Regions from separate parts of the Homo sapiens genome. Here region 1 is linked to region 2. The links are contacts of gene promoters, found by promoter capture Hi-C in human tissues and cell types (Jung and others, 2019). All regions are on one chromosome and are shown on one strand. Each heading gives the region's core, a stretch centred on a gene start or on the middle of the fragment in contact. The rest is flanking DNA. Distances are from core to core; before and after follow the strand shown. Region 1 overlaps NABP1 (nucleic acid binding protein 1). Region 2 holds the start of TMEFF2 (transmembrane protein with EGF like and two follistatin like domains 2).

The links. The method cuts DNA at HindIII sites, captures the fragments that hold promoters and counts their contacts. A contact is called where the count stands out against the background at its distance.
Region 1: a contact is called between a fragment that was not itself captured here and the fragment with the promoter of TMEFF2 in region 2, in 1 of the 25 tissues and cell types used here (hippocampus).

Annotation. Positions count from the first base shown.
Region 1 is chr2:191,680,166-191,686,505 of GRCh38, forward strand. It overlaps NABP1 (nucleic acid binding protein 1), which reads left to right. Exons shown (of 6, transcript NM_001031716.5): 3 at 1,781-1,852; 4 at 3,564-3,639; 5 at 4,065-4,131; 6 at 5,434-6,340. The coding sequence ends at 5,603. Among named protein-coding and RNA genes, the nearest start is that of NABP1, 5.2 kb to the left of the region's middle. RefSeq lists an enhancer at 1-341. The HindIII fragment of the contact is 5,545 bases long and covers 1-4,764 here.
Region 2 is chr2:192,192,303-192,199,025 of GRCh38, forward strand. It overlaps TMEFF2 (transmembrane protein with EGF like and two follistatin like domains 2), which reads right to left and starts at 2,631. Exons shown (of 10, transcript NM_016192.4): 1 at 2,051-2,631. The coding sequence starts at 2,222. RefSeq lists an enhancer at 2,577-3,152. The HindIII fragment of the contact is 5,375 bases long and covers 1,534-6,723 here.

The DNA of each region.
Region 1 (6,340 bases), core at 742-3,241, 510 kb before region 2:
GGAAGATAAAAGGGCAGAAAAGGATCTTAAAAACAGAATTTGGAAGCTTTTGAGATCAATAAAATTGTAATAATTTATCATTAACTGCAGGGAAAGTGGTGGAGATTGATGTTGGCCTAATAAGTAGAATCTTAGAAGTATTGGAAAGCACTGAGAGTAGGAGCTTAGAGCTCCTTGGTGTTACCTTGCAGGCTTACAACATCTTCAGGAAGTGAGGTAAAGTGTCATCAAAGCAGGAAGTGAGAGTCAGGACTTAGACATTTTCTTCTCATACACTGACTCATGACAGTAATTTAAACTTCCACATCTTTAAAAAACAAAAGAGAATTCCTTCTTAGGGAAGTATGGTGAGGATTGATTAGTATAATTGGAGTTTTTGGCTCCCCAAATATTTTTCACCCAATGATTGAAAGTATTTTTTACGCTAAAAACGGCATCTTATTTCAAGTATTTCATGTTCTGTAGTGACAGTCATAGGTGTTTCCATCAAAAAAATTATTGGAAAATTAAACTTATTAGTTAGGTACTATAGAATTTTAAGGGGAACAATTACCTGGGAGTACAATTTAAACGAAAATTAAAAACTATAGAAACTCTATTTACTACTTCAGTATGACCTTGAGAAGTTACTACACCTCATACTTCAGCTTCCTCTTCTGTGAAATGGGAATAATTATACCTTATTTACCAAAACAACACACTCAGCTTGGAGTCTGGCTCATTCTAAGGCCCTTAAATTCTGGTTGAATCTAAGAAAAGTAGCTTTTGAAGAAAAACATACCTAACATCTAAATAATGGTTCAAATATCAACATGTTTATCAGAATACCCTGAAAACTTACCTCAGTGTTCTCATTTCTTAAAGTGAATGTTAAATATTTTAATTGTAACCAAATTTTTTCTCAAAATATGGGTTAATTTTTATTTTAGTAAGGTGAAATGTTAATGCACTGTATCCTAAGCCACTCTTTGTATAACTTAAGAGTGGTGAATGGTGTCTTTAATAAATAACCCTTTAATTAAAGTAAAGAGAACTGTATAGTAAGTTAAAGTCATGAAGTTACCATAGTAGTTGTACAGAGAACCATTGAGAACCAAACCTTGGATTGATTTTATAATATTAATTTACCTTTTTCTTAGATATCTAGGATTATTTTATGTAGTGATGCTGTCTGCTTTCAAAATTGTTCGGAGTAAACATTTGCCAGTTTGTTTACTACAAACCCAGCATGGTATTAAAAATCACATGTTTGGAAAGGCAGATAGGTGAAGCTTTGTGACCTTAGTGTTTTTTTTAGCACTTTGAAATTCTACCAGATCTTCGGTAGCTTAGGAATCCTGTGTCTTTTATGGAGGCAGAAGGAAAACTGTTATATCATTATTTGACTAGACTGTAAATGAAACATTAGGATGATTTTACATATCTTGTGGCTGAAAAATAGTTTCTGTTTAAATTTCTGCAATTAAAAGCTTTTGTTTTGTTAATTGACTAAAGATGTGATCATTGGGTATAATAATACTGGCTTTGCGAAAAGACTTATTTTCCAGAATTTGTTATGATTTAGATAATTATGTCAAAATTCGACAGAATTTTTGTATTCTTTTGTAAATAGCAAGTTATCAAAGTTAGATTTATTGTATTTGATTTACTATGGTGGATAGAGAGGGCTTGATCCTCACTTCTACCTTAATACAAAAAATATATAGTGTGAAGATTTACTTGATTTAAATAGAAGAAAATAAATATATTTCTAAAGAATTAATGTTTCTTTTCTCTCTAGGTATGCATCCATGTGGAAAGGATGTCTGACACTTTATACTGGAAGGGGTGGTGAACTTCAAAAAATTGGGGAGTAAGTATTAAAATGCATTTTGTATAATTGCATATATTATAAATAATATCTACGGAATGATTGGTAGGTATGAATTGTAAACCTCTTTGGCTTTTTTGACTAGTAAACTGAATGTCTTTGGTAGCTTAATTGAAAAAATAACTTCGTGTATACAAATTTAACACTTGTCAGTACTGTTTTCTGTGGTTAAAAGTGTCAATTTTTCCTGGCAAAGAGCAGTAGAAGAAGCTGCAGTTGAGACCAGCCCTAGTGGAAGCATTTCTGTAGGTTTTAGAAATGTGCATTTTTTAGGTGTCACAAGAGCCATTTGAAGTAGATTCTCTTTTGTAGTGATTCACCATATACGAAGCTAGTGATTCACCAAGTTTCAGGCCATAAGTTTAAATTTTCTTTTTCTATGGTTATGGGTGAATATGTACTCATGTTAAAAAGGACTTGCAGCAACGAAAACTGAAGTCCTCTATTTATCCACAGTCTAGGTGCGGTGCAGGCAGCCGCAATGCGAGATTCCATACACTACTACCCTGGTAATGATCTCCACCCTGACCTGGAGGAGCCATCCTCTCTAGGGGTGTAAGGTAATTCAGCCTCCATGTTAGCCTAGACATTGGGTTGTATTCATAAAGTATGGTACAGGCAATGAGCCAAATCATCAGTCCATTCTGTTTGGTTAATGCTCTGCCATCTACTTAATGCCTGTCAAATTGGAAGATATTTAAAAAGAGAAGCCACAAATGGCACCAGATAAAAAAGGAAAACTGTTTGCCACTGAGGGAATAAGATGCTTATTTGGAGAACCTGTGGTTAATAATGAAGGAAAAGAAATGATCATGCTAGCTTTTAAAGATCAGAAACACTTAACGCTTTGCCTTTGTTAGAAGGGAAGTTAGGATTCACTTAGAGTAGCATTAATAGAGTTATGTGTTATGAAAGGTCTTAGTGTCTGTTACTGAAAGGTTCAGGATTCTGTCCTGACCTTCATGTATTCATACAGAGGTGTTGATAATAATGGAGGTCAGTTACGTGAAAAACCGTTAGAGGTCACTCATTTCTTAATGACTGCTCTTTGTCAGGGTCAGTCGAGGATTTACCAAAACTGGTTCTGATTTGTCTTCAGTATGGTGAGGAGTAATAAAATGCTTCTTTGTAATGTTAGTACACATTATATGGTCAACTTACAGGAAGCACTTGGATAAACTGGTGGCTATGTAGCCTGTTGTTATTATTTATTGCCTAGAAACCACTCTTAACCCTAAATGATTATCTTTGCAGATCCACAGTGATCGATCAAAAGAGGGACTGAATGGGAGTGGGTGAATGGATCGGTGCAAATCCATTACCACTGCTGGAGAAACCACCCTGGAACCCTAAACATGGTTCACTCTCATGTTATTTTTCCTTTGATCAGCTTTTGTGGAAAAACAGGACAGAGATGTTTTTGTGTCCTTGATTTTTGATGTGATTTTTTTTTCAGCACTAAAGAAGAATTTAAATACAAAATAGAATGTTATATATCTTGTAGACAGTCAAATATTTGATGTTTTATGGGACATAATCATTTGGGAAGTTTTTGTTGTAAATGAAGAGTTAGTTTGTTGCTATTAATTTGTTTGACACATAAGTTCATTCCTAAAAGTTAGAGATGTTACATAAAGAAGGGTTGAGGACTTTATTTCAGAAGTCATTTAATTTTTTCTTTATTTTCTTTCAGATTTTGTATGGTTTATTCAGAAGTGCCAAATTTCAGTGAACCCAACCCAGATTATCGAGGACAGCAGAACAAAGGGGTAATTGTGTAGTATACTTTTATGATTAGGCTAATTTTGACTGTGTTATAATTCTATGATTAGGCTAGCCCTGTTGATACTTAGTATAAAGAAGATAATTTTTAAAAGGATACTTAATTTTTATTGTATGTTTTGTGAGGATATGTATCTGAGGTGTCATCTACTAGATATATGTGCCATTTTGCACTTTGTGGTGTGCTGAGTAATTATCAGGAAATAGGATGTAACAGAGCTCTGAAAGGTTTGGGAAACGTTTCTTAACATTATAACCTTTAATGACCTAGGAAAAATCTTTAAAAAATTTGTTAATTAAAAAAAAAAAAAAAGCCAAACCCAAAACTTTAAAAAAGAAAGGATATAATAATGTTGTAATAATATAATTGTGTTTTTATTCTCGTTTGGTTAAATTAAAAACTTTTTTTTAGGCACAGAGTGAACAGAAGAATAATTCCATGAATAGTAATATGGGTACAGGTACATTTGGACCAGTGGGTAAGATTTTGTTTGTGTGTTTCATTTGTGATCAGGTATAAGAATGAAGAGAGCTGTAAAGATTCACGTGAAAAGCAACGTCTTTAGGCATAAATTAGTGATAAAGGTGAACTACCAGTAAACAGGGAATCCCCAAAGGGCTGATTTTCTAGAAAGTTGATAAACTTAAGCCAGTTTATTGAGAATTCTAAGTTTTTGTGATGTCCGTGAAGAGATACCATGCTATTTTTTTTTTATTGATTCCTATAAAATTTCTATAATCTAGTGATTACTTATAGTAGATGCAGAATTACTGGTTATTTTGGTGCACTGAAAGCGTTTTATCTTTAGAGTCATAGTTCACCTTAATTTTTCACATACAAGTAGCTGCTGCTTTAAAAGATGAGCTGAGCCGTTTAAAGGCTAGTGACCCTCAGATGTCATTTAACATGACCCCCAGACATCATGTTCATGATCCTTGTAGCTCTGTTAAAGGTCTTCTGAAGTCTTTTTTCTTAAATATATGAGGAAAAGTCAGTCTTTTGTGATTAGAGTTCATTAGGATGGCTCATGTTTTGGTTTTGTTTTGTTTTTGAGACAGGGTCTTACGCTGTTGCCCAGACTGGAGTGCAGTGGCGTGATCTTGGCTCATCGCAACCTCCACCTCGCAGGCTCAAGTGATTCTCCTGCCTCAGCCTCCCAAGTAGCTGGGATTACAGATGTGCACCACTACCACCCAGCTAATTTTTATATTTTTAATAGAGATGGGATTTCACCATATGGGCCAGGCTAGTCTCGAACTCCTGACCTCAAATGATCCACCTGCCTCGGCGTCCTAAAGTGCTGGGATTACATACAGGCGTGAGCCACTGAACCTGGCCAGCTCATGTTTTATTTGACTCGAAGGCTACATGTCTTGGCATTGCTGATCACATTGTGGGAAACGCTGCCTTTGCCTTTAAAAAGTTAGAATAACATTGTCTGTTTTGAGATATTAATCATATTTGAGCCAAATTCCAATATTCACTATTTTGCCCTTTCTTTTTCTTTTATAGTGTAGGCAATGCATTTTTTTACTCTATTAATTTCTAATTTTGATGCCCAAGTTGGCTTTTTTCTCTCTATTAATACAGCATCAAGTTAGCATATTTATAGCAATACATTTGGAAAAACTTAGAGCCCACATTGTTTTTTTTTTCTGTATAAAAATAAAAGTGTGTGCTTTAATATTTTTAAGCATTAATAACATGTTGGCACTTAAGATAGTTCTACTTCTATAGACTACCTCTGAAAATAGTGATGAATTTTTGTATTCTTTTTTAGGAAATGGTGTTCACACTGGCCCTGAATCAAGGGAACACCAGTTTTCACATGCTGGCAGAAGCAATGGCCGGGGACTTATAAATCCACAACTACAAGGAACAGCTAGTAATCAAACAGTGATGACCACAATAAGTAATGGCAGGGACCCTCGGAGAGCCTTTAAAAGATGACCTATGCTAAATACTCATGTGTAGTTTTTATACTACATGCCCTACTTGAACACTTATTGCACTTTTATTTATTGTTAACTGTGAAAAGTACGTCCTTTATTGGGTTTCCTTTTATATTCTTGGTTTGTTAAGAAGAATGGTTTGTTTTTATAGCAAAACTGTTAAGCTGCTCGAGTCTCCTGTTGAAGAATGGGAACACTGAAAAGTAGGGGCATTTATTTTTAGAGTAAAAAGATTATTGGATAGCCTTTAAAAAACCTGCACCCATTTCATGGGTGAGTTACTTAAGACATCAGCTTTATAGCCTCTATGAGTCTATCTTCTGTATAAGTTTTGTAATATTTAACATAAGGCTTAATGGGAGATGTTCTTTTGTCTTGTATTCAGATATTGCCAACTAAAGCAATAACCATCAAAAAACACAAGAACTTGTCAATGCTAGCAGTAATTTTTGAGTGTTTGTGGCTCTCGGAATGATTGACTTCGTTCAGTGACTACTATTAAGATTTTCCAAGGACTGACTCATCCCAAATTTTTGTTGTATTACCAAAAAAACAGATTCCTTATCAGAATTTGGAATAGAATGTGATCTCTATTGCAACAAGTAATTTTAAAAGAAAGCTACATTTATTTTAGAGTAGTGCTCCTAACATGTATTATCAACTTTGTGGATTACATTGGAGGAAAATTTAAAACTGGGGCCTTGAATATTTATTTTTTGAAACTACCATGTTAAA
Region 2 (6,723 bases), core at 1,381-3,880:
TTTTATTTTTTGCTCATTAGGTGGACAATATTTATGACCACAAAACTCCACATTTTGGAAAAGAGCTAGTGATGATCTCTGAATACCCTTTTACCATTTCCCCATCTTTAATTGTTCTTTTGCTTCAACGACTGAAACAACCCCTTATTTGAAATGTATCCAGACAAAGAGGAAACAAAGCCTCAATAATAAAGATAAACAGGCACAGTGTTTTCTGTGATGGTCTGTTTGGCTCAAATGAAGATTGATCACCTCTAAGTTAACAGGGGTGGAAGCGGGGTGCCAAGTTCTTGACAACCTATCTGCAAAACCAGTTTATTCTCTTTAGTTTATGCAGTCCCCTTTAAAATATCTGGTAAATATGTAATTTCTTGATTGCAAATGTCAACTTCACATTTAAGTTAGTTATTTCCTAAAACAATGCAAGGGCTAGGAATGAAGCAAACCAGTCTGTGTTGGACTACAAAGCCATCAACATTTCCAAAAATTGTTTTTGCAGGCTCATAATTATTACCATAATAAAGCATCTAAAAAGTGATTAGGCAATAGCAAAGTGAAACTTATTCTTTCAAAAACAACACACATGTACGCATGAATCAAGAAGTTATAGAAACATGTTGAGTTTTATTAAAATGCCAAATTTAGAAACTGCCAAAAAAGAGAACAATCTATTGACCCAAATCTAATAGGGTTGCATATCTCAACTTGTCTTTGTAAAGGATAAATTAGAATGATGCATAATAATTTTCCTTTTGGCATTTACATCAGTAATAACTAGGAACTATACAGGCTTTCACCCTGAGTTACAGTTGGTCATTCCCTCCTCTCTAAAGTTACATACACTTCAGCTTATATACATCTTTGAAAGACACTTTATTCAGAGCCAGATTTAACTACAGCAAAATTATATTCACAGAAGATGAAAAATTACATACACACTTGCTAAAACTAGAACAGACCACACCTAGGGGACAATACCCAGGCATGTTAACGGAGTTTAAAATGCCAAGGAAATTACACCACAATTCTGCCCAGTATACTACAGGCTGTCAAACCGAAATGCTATGCCAGCTAGGAGTGCAGCAACTCCCATCCTCTGGCCCTATTTAATTAGGAAGCTTCAGCAGAGCGAAGCCTGCCAAGCGTTCGCCGTCAGAATCTGAAGGAACCCGAGCGAGCAAGAAGAGTGCCTGACCCACTCCACAGAAGCCTGTCCAGAAATGGAGGAGTCAGCGCCCACTGAAGTCGGTTCCGCCCTCGGCTCGCCTACATGGAGCCTGACCAGCCTCAGTCATGCCCACTCCGGCCTGGGAGACCCGCAAAGTGTTCTTTTTCTCAACTCCCCTGTACTACCTTGAAGCTTAGGGAAGCAAAGAGAGGGGCATATCTGGACTGCAAAACCAATGTCTTTTGCCGCCTAGGAGAGAAGGGAATGAGAGAGAGAGAGAGATAGATAGATAGAGAGAGAGAGAGAGAGAGAGAGAGAGAGAGAGAGAGAGAGAGAGAAATTCTATTGAAACCCAGCTCCTCTAGAATCTGTGTGACCTGGTCTTCAACGGGAGACCAGTGCGACCTCATGGCACCTTTGCCAGGAATCAGCGATTCCCCTGCAGTCACCATTTGATTTATTGCTTTCTCGCTCATTCTTTCTCATAAAGTTATTTCTTCCTCATCCTAGTAAGACTTTTTTCTTTAATGATGACAAAGCTTCTGTTTCAGTGTTTCCCCTAGGATTGGTGCTCTTTCAAAACAGTGAACCCAGAAAACCATCCCGTTTAATATTTCTCAAAATCCTCGCAGCTCCAATGTAAGCGCAAGCATGCAAAGGTTTCCTGCTACACCTGCACTTTCTGCCCATCCCAGAACCACCCCTCACCCCCGGGCCTGCAACAGTTCCCCTTGTTTCTCTGGATAGAGGTGGGTGGTATTAGGGGTCTAGGGCAGTAGGAGGTGAGGGGCTGAGGAGGCGCGCTAGGGTAGGCTGGTCTGTGCTGGATACGCGTGTTCTTCTGCGGAGTTAAAGGGTCGGGGACGGGGGTTCTGGACTTACCAGAGCAATTCCAGCCGGTGGGCGTTTGGCAGTCACTTAAGGAGGTAGGGAAAGCAGCGAGCTTCACCGGGCGGGCTACGATGAGTAGCATGACGGGCAGCAGCAGCAGCCAGCAAAAGCCCTCGCAAAGTGTCCAGCTGCTGCACTGCCGCGGGGACTCCCACAGCACCATGACTAGTTCGTGCAACTCTGCAGCAGCAAACGGCTTCCGAGGAACACAGGATCGCGGGGGCCGGGCAGCGGGCTACTGAGCATCCCGCGGACGGCGGCAGCAGAGGCGGCGGCGGTGGCAGTGGCACCCGGCGGGGAAGCAGCAGCCAAACCCGCGCATGATCTCGAGAGTTTCAGCAACATCCAGGGACTGGGCTCAGCCCCGGAGCGAGAGGGTCGTCCGCTGAGAAGCTGCGCCGGAGACGCGGGAAGCTGCTGCCATAAGGAGGGAGCTCTGGGAAGCCGGAGGACAGGAGGAGACGGGAGTCCAGGGGCAGACGAGTGGAGCCCGAGGAGGCAGGGTGGAGGGAGAGTCAAGGCGCCCCGCAGCCCGGCAGCCGCCTCTCGAGCTCTGCCGCCCGCATCCCTCTGGCGTTTGGGAAGCAGCAGGTCCTCAGCCCGCCCGGGGTCACGTGGGAAGAGGCAGTCGGGCTCTGATTGGTGGAGCAGGATGCAGGTCCCGGGAGGGAGGGGTCGACGAGGAGGTGCAAGGATGCAAGGAGGAGGCGGCCGCGGAAGCCACAGATGGGCTCGCTCGCCAGGCGCTGGCCCGAGTGGGGCTAGGCGGGGATGGCTCAAATGAGAAGCTCGGGCTTCAGGGTGGGCTACCCGCACACTCATATACCATTCGCCTCACTCTCCGCTCCAGGACGCCCCCTACCGAAGGCGGGGTCCGGACTAGCGCCCCTCTTCCGCGCGTGACCCCGGGCCGCGAGTGCGGGCCGCGGCTGGGTGGCGTCTCTCCGAGCTGGAGATGGTGGGGGCGGAGGTGTCAGAGGAGCAGCAGCAGCAGGGCAGAGAGGGGCGAGTCGGCGCGGGAGAGGGCGTCCTGCTGGCGACCGGCGCTCCAGCGTGCGGGAGCGCGCCGCCTAGGCTGTAGGGGGATGCAGGCTGGGAATGTCGCGGCGGAGAGGCCAGGGACGTTTCTCTAGGGATTTACAGGAAAGAGGGTGAGAGGCGATGGTGTTAGAACCGCTCTTGCCGACCTGGAAGCAACAGCAGCATCTCCCACAAGAGCGTGCAACCCCAAGGCTGCTCGCCGAGGCAGCTCAGCCATCCCGGCAGGCGCTCTCCTTCCTTCTCTCTTCTCCCCTCTCTCCTCCCAGGCCCCCCGCAGCTCCGACCCAGCCCAAGCGTTCGCAGGTTTGAATCCCTCTCCTCATCACCCGCTCCTCTCCAGCCCGTAGCCTATTAGTGTGTCCACCTGGGAGGTGCGGTCAGATGTGTTTGGAAGGTCAGATTGGTCGGGACAAGTGGTCTGAGAGAAAGAGAAAGGCTCCTCTGCATACGCCGCGGGTGGGTTGCCGGGAGCATCGGCCGGGCAGCGGCGTCCGGGAAGGGGAGAGCGGGCTCCATTTGTTGGCCCAGGCAGTGACCCTGCGTTCCTTACTCGGGTCTTTGCCGGATGGCCGGTGACCTGGGGCGACGAGAGAAGGTCTAACTCGGCAGGAGTCTCTGGCTCTGCGCGTTTCTTTCATTCTCTCCAGCGGGAAGGGCAAACGGCATAGCGGGACCCGCCTTCCGTCTGCTGCATTCTTCAGGCAGTTAGACACACTCTTTAGCCTAATGGAATTTTAGTCGCCAGTAACGGGACCAAGAGCTTTCGGGGACAAGGGTGGAGAGGAACATCTTTCTTCCATGACCGGGGTCACTATTGCAGTCTCAGTGTTTTGGATGCCCCATAGGGAAGAGCTTTCTTTTTGGTGTGTGATTATTCAGTGATTCCTGTTTTTGTTTTTGTTTATCTTCTCTCCGCTCTCCTTCTCTATTCCTCTCTGTTATCCCTCCTCCTTCTTCTCCCCCCGCTTTCAAAAGCCTCCGGATCCTCCCTTTTTCTATTTAAATTCTCCTTTTGTGCCCCTCTTTCTGTGTCCCCTGAATTTAGGAGAGCATTTGATAACATTTAACAGGCAATTAGTGTCCATTCCCAATCACTTAAAAGAGGCATTCATATACTTTGAAAACGGGACTATCTATCCTTTGCAGACACCAGCAGAAAAACAAATTGTACCCGAGTAATCCTTTTAAGTACTTTAACCTCCAACCTCCTCCCACTTCCTTGCTTTTTAACTTCTCCTTTGAGAGATGTGATCGTGCAGCACCTCAGTGCCTCAACGAAATCTTTTTTTTTTTCCTGTGTGAAATCCATCCCTTTATCTTACATCTCCGCCTCCGTCCGAGACTGTCCCTCTCCCCTCCCACCTCCAAAGATTTCTGAATCTCAGTGTCTCTCACTCCTGGCAATTAAGCAGCAGATCCCAGCATTCTAGTCGGTGGCATCTCGCTCCTCACCGACGAAGACTCCATTAAAACAGATCAATTAGACCAGACGTTGGAGGCATCAGAAAATCGGCTTCTAGACAGAGCAGCTAAATTCTTTAAGGAAACAGAATACCCATTAGATAGAGCTGCCAACTAATATTGCAAAACAAGGAATTAGAAATTTCTTTCGCTACAGGCTTTCAGCAGAGAAGGCAACATAAATATAGATCAAGATTTAACAACTCTACAGCAGAGAATGAGAACATGTCATTTTCCATAGCAAGGCTGGTGTGGTAACTAATCAGGCTTATGAAAATAAGTCATGCTTGAAACTAAAGGCAAAGTCCTTAAAAGTGTTTATGCAGTAATTATGATAATGAAACAGGACCTGCTAGGATTTCAGAGTTTGGCTATGTAAGTAGAATTTTAGAGAACCTCTTAGCAGAGGAAAACTGTTTTTGAATTTTCTGCTAAGTAAATTTTTGGCATACTTTCTAATAATATATGCTCTTCCTAAGACGTTTTGCCAAAAGTAAGTTAAAACTCCAAAGGAGTTAATTACTGGTTGTAACTGGTTAACAAATGCGGTTGCTTCCACAGAGGTCCTTTAAATTATTAAACAGTTTGAAGCAAAGCCTTTTCAATGGGAATGCTGCAATTTTGTTGCACTTACTCTGTACTTAGTGTTATAGTGCCACCAAGAAACAAATTCTGAAACTGGCAAGCACCACCAAGTGGCAGAAGAACATCACTCATTGAGCAGAGAATTGTATTACTGAATATGTAAATAAAAATATATACATTATTTAGACTTGTCACTAGGTACCAAAGAAGTAGACAAGACTGCATTAGCAATTGGATTAGTGCTTTAACTTTTCCCCAGCAAGGCAAAATCAGTTTACTTATTAGAATTAAATTTAAGTCTATGAACTGTACTTTGCATTGCGTATCATATGATTGCTAGTAATATGACACAATCATACCATGTATTTGCAAAATTCTTATTTTAAAATACTATACCATATTTACTTTCAATCTTCTTGAGCTAGAACACTTTATTTGTGGCATATACACTCTAGAATTGATGCAGAGGAGCAGAGTCCAGTTGTTAGATTTTTCAGTAGAAATAGTGCAGATATATTTTCTCCAGAAAACTTAAGAACATTTTTTTTTCTCATGGAAAGAACATCATTATAAAGTGTGAGATTACTCACAGCTTAAGTAGGGGGCTTGGGAGTTATTCTCCAACAAGAATAGTTTAAGATAAATAAATGAACCTGGGAAAATAAGATACACTGCCAATCAGAACTCTTATCTCCTTCATGATTTCATACTTTCTGATTGCTTCAATAAAGGTAAGATGTATCCTTTGCTTCTTAGGTGTCAGGCATTGTGCCATGTAGGATAGAACATGTTATTTTTATTTAATCTTTAAAACACCCCTATGAGACAAAGAATATTATCTCATTTTATATAAAAGGAATATGGCTTTGAAAGCATCAGGCAACTTGCCCCAAGAAACAAATCTCGTCAGTGACACTGCTGGGACTCTGTGAAATTCTGCCTGACTTCAGAGCACAAGACATAAGTCACTAATTTCTGCTGTATTGCTGCCTGTTAGCTTCTGAGAGGGGAAACTAACTGGGAACGTATCAGTTCTGTCCATGATACTTCATTTGCCCTTTCTGTGGAGCCGCAGTAAGGCCCAAACTTTAATTCTCAAACTTCGGCAATAAGATCCAGTGATTTCTGAACCTGGTTGATCATATGAATTCCTTGAGAAACTTTGAAACAATAGACAAATTCCAAGTCCCACTATCAGGGATTCAGAAAATCTGGAGTTGGGCCTTGGGATCCACATTTCAATATTCATCCTTGTTGGAGAAGTAAGGTACCACCTATACCTATATGACAAATGAAAGGATACCTCGATTTTTGCTCAGTTTTCACAGAGAGGTTTCTGAGACAGGTTAAAAGCTTTTACTCAGTGTAAAGATGAGCTGTTGTACATGTCTGTCTCTCTGTTTTTATGCATATGTTCACCAAATATGTATTAAGCTTCTAATATGTCTGACACAGTAACTTTGTGACTGTAGACAATTTCCTCATTTGTAAAATGTGAGTAATAACAATACCTGCCTCCTGGGCTTGTTCTAAAGATTAAAATAAAAATGTATGGTTTAATGGTAGTGGATTTGGGG